2 separate regions of the Homo sapiens genome follow, and region 2 is linked to region 1. Evidence: promoter capture Hi-C in 16 types of primary human blood cells and fetal thymus (Javierre and others, 2016). All regions are on one chromosome and are shown on one strand. The core of a region is centred on a gene start or on the middle of the fragment in contact, and the rest is flanking DNA. Distances in the headings are between cores, read along the strand shown.

Evidence for each region. Contacts are between HindIII fragments. The CHiCAGO score rates a contact against its expected background, and 5 or more counts as called.
Region 2: a contact is called between a fragment that was not itself captured here and the fragment with the promoter of NIPSNAP3B in region 1, in 1 of 17 cell types (M1 macrophages). The highest score is 6.7, in M1 macrophages.

Annotation. Positions count from the first base shown.
Region 1 is chr9:104,762,786-104,767,647 of GRCh38, reverse strand. NIPSNAP3B (nipsnap homolog 3B) reads right to left here and starts at 3,519. Exons shown (of 6, transcript NM_018376.4): 1 at 3,348-3,519; 2 at 1,113-1,323. The coding sequence starts at 3,407. RefSeq lists silencers at 3,204-3,393, 3,591-3,790. The HindIII fragment of the contact is 4,394 bases long and covers 651-4,862 here.
Region 2 is chr9:101,586,401-101,591,537 of GRCh38, reverse strand. All of the region lies in intron 6 of GRIN3A (glutamate ionotropic receptor NMDA type subunit 3A), which reads left to right. Among named protein-coding and RNA genes, the nearest start is that of PPP3R2, 6.0 kb to the left of the region's middle. RefSeq lists an enhancer at 4,768-4,817. The HindIII fragment of the contact is 1,122 bases long and covers 1,922-3,043 here.

The DNA of each region.
Region 1 (4,862 bases), core at 2,270-4,769:
TTTTCAATGGGACATGTTTCAACTTGTGGTTTATCTAAAGCATAAATTATGTTTTAATAGGGTCTGTTTTATTATAACAGGGAAAAACTAAAGAGTTACGTCAAGCATAGAATGAACACTTTTCATATTAAATTACTTTATGACTATTAACTTTGGACACTGATCACTAAACAGTAAATGAAATTATTAAAAGTTCTTTAGGTATCCTCAAGTCCTGATGTGGACTGTTAAGAACAGACATGGAAGTAACAAACATTCTGGGGATTCTTGTTACTTGTTCTCTTTCCTCTACTAAACCAGGGGTAGGTCAGCTTCAATATGGGAAGGACTGTCTCTCATTCCTTTTCCTTACCTCCCTAGGGTAGTATGAAAGAATTCCTTGAAACTCTGGGGTACAGAAATGAAAAAAGAAGTGGTCTCTAAACATAACAGAATTATTAAATCTCAGAGTTGGGTGACGCTTAAAAGTTAACTATCATCCTTTAAAAACCTCCATTTTTATAAAGCTCCCAAATGGGTGAATTATTTCTGCAAAAATGCTGATATCCAGCCCTAGCTGTAACAATAATAAGAAAAAAAAAATTATCTTATCCTAATGACACTCCTTTACCCAAGAACTGCAATTAGGAGTCTCATAAATTTACAAAGCTTTCTCCCTTATTTAGCCAGTATTCCATCTTCGTCAATACCATATACATTAGTTACACATTTAAAACATTTTTATTAAATATACATGTCTTTTGGCAGGCCCAACGGTGATCTTAACCCACTTGAACATTTACAATTACTGCTTTAAATTTTTCATGAGCTATCTTTATAGCAAACGATTCTAACATTTTTCTGAGGATTAAAGTCTAATTCACAATTTTATGGTTTGATATATGAGACTGCATGTTTTCTCATTTATGATAACATAAGAGTTCAAGCAAGGGGTGGTTAGAGGTGTACCACTGGGAAGAAGATCTGCTAAATTTATTTTTTTGGTATTGCTTTTAAAAAGTCTTACTTAACCTGTATGTATCTATGGTAATATAGATCCAAGAACTAAGTCTTATGTTACATTTAACAGAATGAAAATCTATACTGAATACTAAAACTGGATGACTCTTTACCATACTTCCAAATATGAAACACTTTATTCGTTCTGCCTCCAAATTCTACACTCCAGAATCCAACCAATTCAGAGTAAGAGGTCCGAAGATGAATGTTTTTCTTAAGATTTTCCATGAACGCATTCATATTTGAAGGTTTAAGGTAATAAGTACGAAATTCATAGAACGTTCCATCGTATTGTCTAGGGCCCGTAGCAAAAGATGAACACACCTGAAGGAGGTAAGACAAATGTAAATATCTTGGGAAGGTACAATTACAGATTTGGTTACAACCAAATCTGAGTCTGGTACAAGGAACACACATAGACTCATTATCCATTGTTTACTTTTGTTGTCAATTCTCCATATACACTTGTTTACATAGAGATGTCAATAAAGATAACTACTCTTAATTCTGATGAATATATAGCAACTGTTTCCTAGCAGGGGTCTACCTCTAGCCATTTTTTCACGAGAATTTGCTCACAAGAAGGCTGTGGGATCATAATGATACTCCTTTACCGAAGAACTACATTTAAGACTTAGTCTCTTTAATTTACAAAGGGTTTTCCCCTGTTTAGCCAATATTCCATCTTACTCAATACCATATGTATTAGTTCCACACATTGAAAAAAATTTATTAAGTACACATGCCTTTTGGCAGGCCCAAAAATACGTTTACTAACAAAAAACTCTTGTTTTTAAAAGGTTCCTAAAAAAACAGGAAGGGCTATTCAGGTCAAAGTATTTCCTGAATCTACTGATGAAGACTACCGGTCAAAAACAGGACTGGAATGTAACTAATATAAAAGGAAGCTATAACTTATCCAATTGCATTGTACTATGGGTGTATACTGCATAAAGGCTGAAAAGGAAAAAAACTCAACAAATGAGAATTGTCTCCATCATTGTTTCTAATTACAGATGCAATATCAAGAAGTATGTACATTTAGTGCACTCAATTATACCAAGTTTATGGAACTATCCTTTAAGAACCACCCTTTGTAATAGTCATATGCCCAATGGGTAAATTTTCTGTCCTAATCTGGCCCTCTGAGCCTGAGTGAGCTTAATGTTCAGTAGCAAATGCCCTGTCAGAAATTATCCAGTCTGTCTGTATGTACGTACATGCAAATATTTATGTAAACACACGTGTATACACAGACCACTCCCGTGGCATTCTAGTTTACAAATCCATTCATTTAGGCATGGTTAGCATGTGACAATTTCCTGAGGCTCACTACCCAGAATAATCTATCGCAACAGTTTCAGTAGGCATCTTTCACTGACATATTTTTGGTTACAACATGCAAATGTCTATGTAGTTTGTGTGCATAACGTCTTAATTATAATTGTCTATCTTGAGTTCATTCATCTCCAGTATGAGTTATGCCCTTATTGCCCAAGTGTCTTAGTTTTCTTAGAAAACCCTTCTTCATACCAAAAAATACCTGCAACTATCCTTTCTTTTGATGGCCATTCTTTTTGGGTCAGTTTAATCAAATTCTGAAAATAAAAAACTGCTTAGTATCTACAGTTTAAAAATATTATTATCTCGGAAAATGGGCCAATGAGGTATTTCTAATAACTGCTTTTAAAGTTGATTTTCGGAGATTTGTATCTGGAGATGTTATCCTAAAAAAACGCAACAGCTGGCGCCACGGGGGTGTCCCGGGAGTTGTGGCATTTAGGCTAGAAACAGCTGGCATCAGGCTGGGCACAGTGGCTCATGCCTGCAATCCAGCACTTTGGGAGGCCAAGGTGGGCGGATCACGAGGTCAGGAGTTCGAGACCAGCCTGACCAACATGGTGAAACCCCCGACTCTACTAAATAGTAAACACAAAAAAAATTAGCCGGGCGTGGTGGCTGGCGCCTGTAATTCCACCTACTCCGGAGGATGAGGCAGGAGAATCGCTTGAACCCGGGAGGCGGAGGTTGCACTGAGCCGAGACTACGCCACTGCACTCCAGCCTGGGCGACAGAGCGAGACTCCGTCTCAAAAACAAAAACAAAAATCACAAAAACACTGGCATCCAGTTAGAAAACCCCTCTGACAGCGACTGCCAGCGAGACGACCCCGGCCTGTAGCCTCCTCCTTGCGCGCCAGACGGCTCCAGAGACCGCGTTAGAACTTCGGCGGCGGCGCGGGGCCCCAGGTCTGGGAGCGCCTGAGCGTGGCTCGCACGCTTCAGAAATACCCCCCGCCCCTCCCCTCCCCTCCGGCCAGGGCTCGGGCGCGCCCCCGCGGCCAGTACCTGAGGCGCGAGCGTCCGTGAGGCAAGCGCCTTGGTCAGGCCGCTTCTGAGAACGAGCATGGCGCGGCTTCGGCACTGAGAAAAGCAGCCAGCCGAGTCCTTTGTGAGACTTCTCTGAAGTCTTCCCGAGTGGAAAAAAGCGGCTCCTGGACCACTGGCGAACTCAGGCAGGGGCGGGACTCGGCGGGGTCAGCTCCACCCCGGCGCGGGAGGCGCGACAGGTCCCGCAGTTGGCGTCTTTCTCTTCGGCGCTGAGCCTCGGTCCCCCTTGGTTTCCTGAAACGTTCTTGCCCCAGACGTTAGAGGTGACAGAATTAGCTGAAGGCTGGGATCGTTCCTGCCCCACCTTTCTGGGCCCTGACCTCATTCGCTCCGATGCGCAGTTGTGTAGATTCGTAAATGTGCGGCGGTTGTGCTTGTGTTGCCCCTGGAGAAGGAAGGGGAGGTGTTCAGCGTGTGCATGTGCAGTGCTTTGCATTTAAAGTCGAGATGTTGACAGGGTTAACTTGTTTCTTTGTTTGAGACGTAGTCTTGCTCTGTCGCCCAGGCTGGAGTGCACTGGCGCGATGTCGCCTCACTGCAAGCTCCGCCTCCCGGGTTCACGCCATTCTCCTGCTTCAGCCTCCCCAGTAGCTGGGACTACAGGCGCCCGCCACCACGCCCCGCTAATTTTTGTATTTTTTAGTAGAGACGGAGTTTCACCATATTGGCCAGGCTGGGACAGGGTTAACTTTTACAGGTTGTGATAGACGTGTATTTGTAGACCAGTGAGCCTTCGCTTTTCTGCATTATCTGTCCCCATTGCCACCCCACTGTGATCTTGGAAGGCTCCTAATAAAGATTTAATTTTCCATGAGCTCAGTGGAATAGCAGCACCGAGCCTGATAGGAAAAAGTCGAAGTTAAACATAGATAGTTTGAAACTAGATCGTTCTGTAAGCCTTAAGAGCAAAACAGCCGACCTCTGGTCTAGTCCTCCCAGTCCCAGAGTACTGGTCCCCAGACTAACCACCTTCAACATTTTAAGCTGTTCTTCTAATACCTGTTTCCGTATGTTTTTTATTTTTTTGAGACAGAGTCTTGCTCTGTCGCTCAGGCTGGGGTGCAGTGGCATGATCTTGGCTCACTGCAACCTCCGCCTCCCGGTTTCAAGAGATTCTCCTGCCTCAGCCTCCTGAGTAGCTGGAATTACAGGCGCACGCCACGACACCTGGCTAATTTTTCTATTTTTAGTAGAGACGGCGTTTCACCATGTTGGGCAGGCTGGTCTTGAACTCCTGACCTCAGGTGATCCTCTCGGCTCAGCCTCCCTAAGTGCTGGGATTACAGGCACGAGCCACTGCGCCTGGCCCGTATTTTTAAATAATAGTCATTTTCTGCTATTTCTTGCATTTTCAGTTATGGAGAGTATGTGTTGCCTTCCTTCTGTGGCAGATGAGGATTTAGGTCTCACAGAAGCCACTCCCCCGGGGGCTTATCATTTGTGTTGAGAACATTCAATATCCTCCTAGCAATT
Region 2 (5,137 bases), core at 1,233-3,732, 3.2 Mb after region 1:
TTATTTCAGCATTACAGATGATGCCATGTAGAGATCTAGCATCTTCTCCAAAGTCGCCCAGCTGGTAAGTGGCAAAGCATGGATTTGAACCAGGCTTTCTGACCCCAAATCCTGAGCTTTATTTCTACCTCTCTGCATTTATCTTATTTTTATAGCTCCTATATCTACCTGTTACAAATTATTTATTATAGTCTTAACCATGTCATCAAATCAAGCCTCAGTTTTCATAAATGATGAAACTGAAGCCCAAAGAGGTAAATTGCTTGTCAAAGAACAAGCAGCCTCCACCTCTTTGGTTCTATGCATTGCAATGAAACAGATATGTTAGACGAGACAGTTTTAAGCCATGTTCCACCTTTGGCTCATCTTGAGAAACAGGTGACAATATTTAGATTAAACCGATAACGCAAACCAATATGCTCTGAGGCTATAGAGATCAGTCACAATATGTTGTTATGAATCCTATGTTAATTGGATTATGTCTGCTCTGTACCATATGTTGCAATCCCCAGACCACTAGACACTCTTTTTGAAACAGAGAAAAAAATATGGCCTCAGCAAATTCAATTTAGCTTTGGTGTATATTCTCTCATGCTTTAGAAACATTCTCAAGGAAAAAATATCTTCCAGACATTTTTGTTAATTACAAATTCCTAAGCCACTGTCTGAGGAACAGTATGAATTTTTTAAATGAAGACAATTTTTTATTTAAAAAAAGTATAAATTCCATTCTCTACTTATAGTACTGACTCTTTCTTTCTGTTAAGAGATAGAGTAGGTAGTTAGTCTGCTATGGTGTTATATCTATTTTGAATACTTTGAACAGGAGGAGGCTCGGATGTTTTTAAAAAGAGTGTTGGCCGGGCGCGGTGGCTCATGCCTGTAATCCCCGCACTTTGGGAGGCCGAGGCGGGCAGATCACGAGGTCAGGAGATCGAGACCATCCTGGCCAACATGGTGAAACCCCATCTCTACTAAAAATACAAAAATTAGCTGGGCGTGGTGGCACGTGCCTGTAATCCCAGCTACTCGGAAGGCTGAGGCAGGAGAATTGCTTGAACCAGGGAGACAGAGGTTGCAGTGAGCTGAGATCACACCACTGCACTCCAGCCTGGGTGACAGAGCGAGATTCCATCTCAAAAAAATAAATAAATAAATAAATAAATAAATAAATAAATAAATAAATAAATAGAGTGTCATTATGGTAGAGGAACAAGGCCACCAGACTGAGAATCAGACCGGACTTCTCTGCTGCCGTGTCAACTACCGTACCTACCCCAGTAGCCAATGACTGTGAACTATAAATCATGAATCATCAGGAATTAGCTGATTCATAATGAAAAATTCTAACACTGAAGGGTCACCGTAGTAGCAGTAAAGCTGTGTAGATCAGAAGACAGTCTGACTACTCACAGGCTAACTCTGACCTACAAATGTTTGCTTTCGTTGTTACTGGTTTTACATGGTGTTTGTTCTCACAATGTTTTTTAAAAATTACCAATATTTTAAATAAAACCTTTAAAGATTTTAAATAAAAACCTAAATTACTACAAAGAAATGCAGGTCACTCTAATATGGAGGTAGCTTTTTATTGACTAAGGAGTCTCTGAAATATTGAGATGAAATTAAGAGTTTCAGTGAAGAAAAATTAACATAGTTACACTCTTTGGCACAGAAGTTCAAAATGGACTGAAGGGTTCACTATTTTTTAAAGATATAACACTGGACACAAAATATTTATCCCCATAATCAATATGTTCTAATGCCTGAAACAGTAGAAAAATGTACAATAATCAAAATAAGTATAGCTGTGTAAAACTTCAAACTTTTATATAATAAAATATAACAAAACAAAGAAAACATAAAAAGGGAGAAACATAACATGTTAGCAAAAGGGTTAGCAGTTTTTCAAAAAAAAGCTTCATTGTGTCTGATATGCATAAATAAATATGCAAAAAAGTCATTATATGATTCATTCAAAAGGAGATAGGTAAAACAAACATGGAAAAATAGGCTTGCTAATTCAATAAATACAAATTACAATATTTAAAACAGGAAAAATGAATAATTATAAAACAGTTGGCAAAAATAGAAGCCTTCTAGGCATTGCAGTATCTTTGGTGGCATTGGGAATGGCTTTCACCCTTTTTATGGGTCATTTTACACATCACAAGTCATCAGAACAGTTGTATCCTTTGACCAGGTAATCTCACTCATTGCAATGTATATCTCAAAGAAATAAAAATATTTTAAAATGCTATACATGGCCAGGTGCAGAGGCTCACGTCTTTAATCCCAGCACTTTGGGAGGCCGAGGCAGGTGGATCGCTTGAGGTCAGGAGTTCAAGACCAGCCTGGTCAACATGCTGAAACCCCATCTCTATTAAAAAAATACAAAAATCAGCCAGGCGTGGTGGCACATGCCTTTAGTCCCAGCTACTTGGGAGGCAGAAACAGGAGAATCATTTGAACCAGAAAGGCGGAGGTTGCAGTGAGTTGAGATCGCTCCACTACATTCTGCCCTGGGAGTCACAGTGAAACGCCATCTCAAAAAAAGAAAAAAAAATACTATACACAAAATTTTTATTGTAGCAATATTTGTCGTATATACCATAAATTATAATATTTAAAAAATTAAACAACCACAGTTTGGGAGTAGTCAAGTCAATTATAACAAAAACAATAGGTGATAGTATTAGGCAACTAAAGTTAATAAATAAAATAATATTTAGAAAATAATATTTTTAGAAATATTAAAATAGTTTGTTAGAAAATAAGTTCTTTTAAAAGCATAATGCAAACTTGTTATATCCTATGTTTAGAACTCTGAAGAATATGTGTGCATATGGTCATTGTTCAGAAGAGAAAATGGAGCATTGAAAGTAATTGTTTTATAGTACAAGGATTATGGGTAATCTCACATTTAGTTTTTAAAAATATTTTTCTGAGTCGTTTTAATAATAAATTTTTCAAAAAACTGCACAACAGAGCTAATGTGGCAAATTAAGTACAATTTCAACCCTAAAAGATGGTCGCCCAAGCTTAAAAGAAATGGGGGCTCAAGAATCCCAAGAAACAGGGAGAGAGAAGCATCTTCACAGCAACATGGGCAGTGCCATGTTGATGAGCCACTAAGCAGTTTCCAGGTTAGAGGAATGCAGAGAGTGCTGTCAAAATCCTTGTTTATCCAAATGTGTGAGCACTACTCAGGCTCATGCAGTGTCTCCCTGGATTTTGTGTTAATAAATTATCTCCTCTTCTGTTTCTTTTGTTAAGTGTGATCTTTCACTATGTCTTGGTTAATGAGAAACTTCCAGGTTCTCTGAATGAATCTTTTTTCTCCCTCTTCATGATTCTTGTTAAATATATATGTTTTAATTCCAAATGATTGCACCGCACAATCTTACCTAACTCTCTTCAACCAGACTCTCTCACCTGGGAAACTCTGTCTTTGGTACATCTGGAGCCCACATTTCATGTGGATATCATTCTCCTACTTCTCCCCAACAAGGGGCCATATGTATAGACACAGCAATGAATCTGCCAAGTTCTTTTGAGCAACTAACTATTCTTCTGGGCAAAATAATCAGGAGGCAATAAATAAATAAATAAATAAATAAAATAGATACCAGGTCTTCAAAATTAGAAATAGCATTTGCTTCTTCCTTGTCCTGCTTCCAAGCATCTATGAGTCATCCATATTTCAGAAGCACCACAGCCTTTTTCTTTTCCTTACCTCTCATTAAAATCATTATTTCTCCCCCTGCCACCAGCTCTCTTATTAAGGAAAAAAATTCTTGAACATCGCATTTGGCTGTGCAGATCCAGAGAGGAGATGATACAAAGCTTAGTGCATTAGGTCACTGAAAAATACAATTATTTTCCCAGGTTCTTGCAGTCATTTTGCTCTGGGGAAAAATATTTAATAGGGAATGTCAGAGTAAATGTAATTAAGTTACTTTTCAGACATGTGCTTTTTATTTTTTATTGAACTTACTATATACTAGGCTGCTGGAGACAGGCAAAAGCAACACAGCCTTACCCTGTCAGAGAAGACTTCCTAAAACAGGCTCCACCCGTTCATTTCTGAGATCTGCGTCAGGATACAGTCTATCTCAAAAGAAGTTATATTCACACCTCGGAGCTAGAGGACCTTAATCCTTTAAACAGTACATATATTGAATCAGATTATTTGGTTGCAAGCAACAGATTTTTTTTTTTTTTTTTTGAGATGGAGTCTCGCTCTGTTGCCCAGGCTGGATTGCAGTGGTGCAATTTCAGCTCACTGCAGCCTCTGCCTCCCGGATTCAAGCAATTCTCCTGCCTCAGCCTCCCGAGTAGCTGGAACTACAGGCACCTGCCACCATGCCTGACTAATTTTTGTATTTTTAGTAGAGACAGGGTTTCACCATGTTGATCAGGCTGGTCTCGAACTCCTGACCTCAGATGATCCACTTGTCTCGGCCTCCCAAAGTGTTAGGATTACAGGCGTGAGCCACTGCGCCCGGCTGCAACAGATTTTTAAACTTAAGCAAAACCTATCAAAAGAATAACGGGAAAGCTCAATGTTTTGAAGTAAGAAAGAGAGTGACAGATGAAGCCTCGAACCACAGCACTCCAAGGATGCTAGTGCAGGAACTAGGGGACTATGTCTTTGGGGCACTGACATTGGAAATGACTCATCTCCAAACACCTTTGATATCCAGTGTTTCTGTTTCAGATTCACATTGACTGGCCTTGAGTCTCATGCTTTGCCTGGTGAACAGGGAGCAGGGAGTCTGTGATTGGTAGATACACCAAAACCACATGAAGCAGGAAGAGGGCAGTTCCCCAAAGAAAGGATCCTAAGAAAACAAAATCAATACATTCCTCCTGAAATTTTTGCATTCAGTTTCCAGTGTTTTACTTCAGTAATTTAAAAAATTTTTTGTCCCAGTTTCAACAGTAGATCCCTAGATTGGTGAATATTAGCATGATCAGGTCAGGCTAGCAAAACTGGGCCTTGTTTCCTCTCCTTTTAATTGAGAATGTCCATCTCCACCCTTCTCTCTTAAACAACTGTTCTAGGAAGCTTCTGTGATATAATGAGACTGTTTGGGATCGGGGGTGGGGGAAATTATGCAAATTTATTTTATAC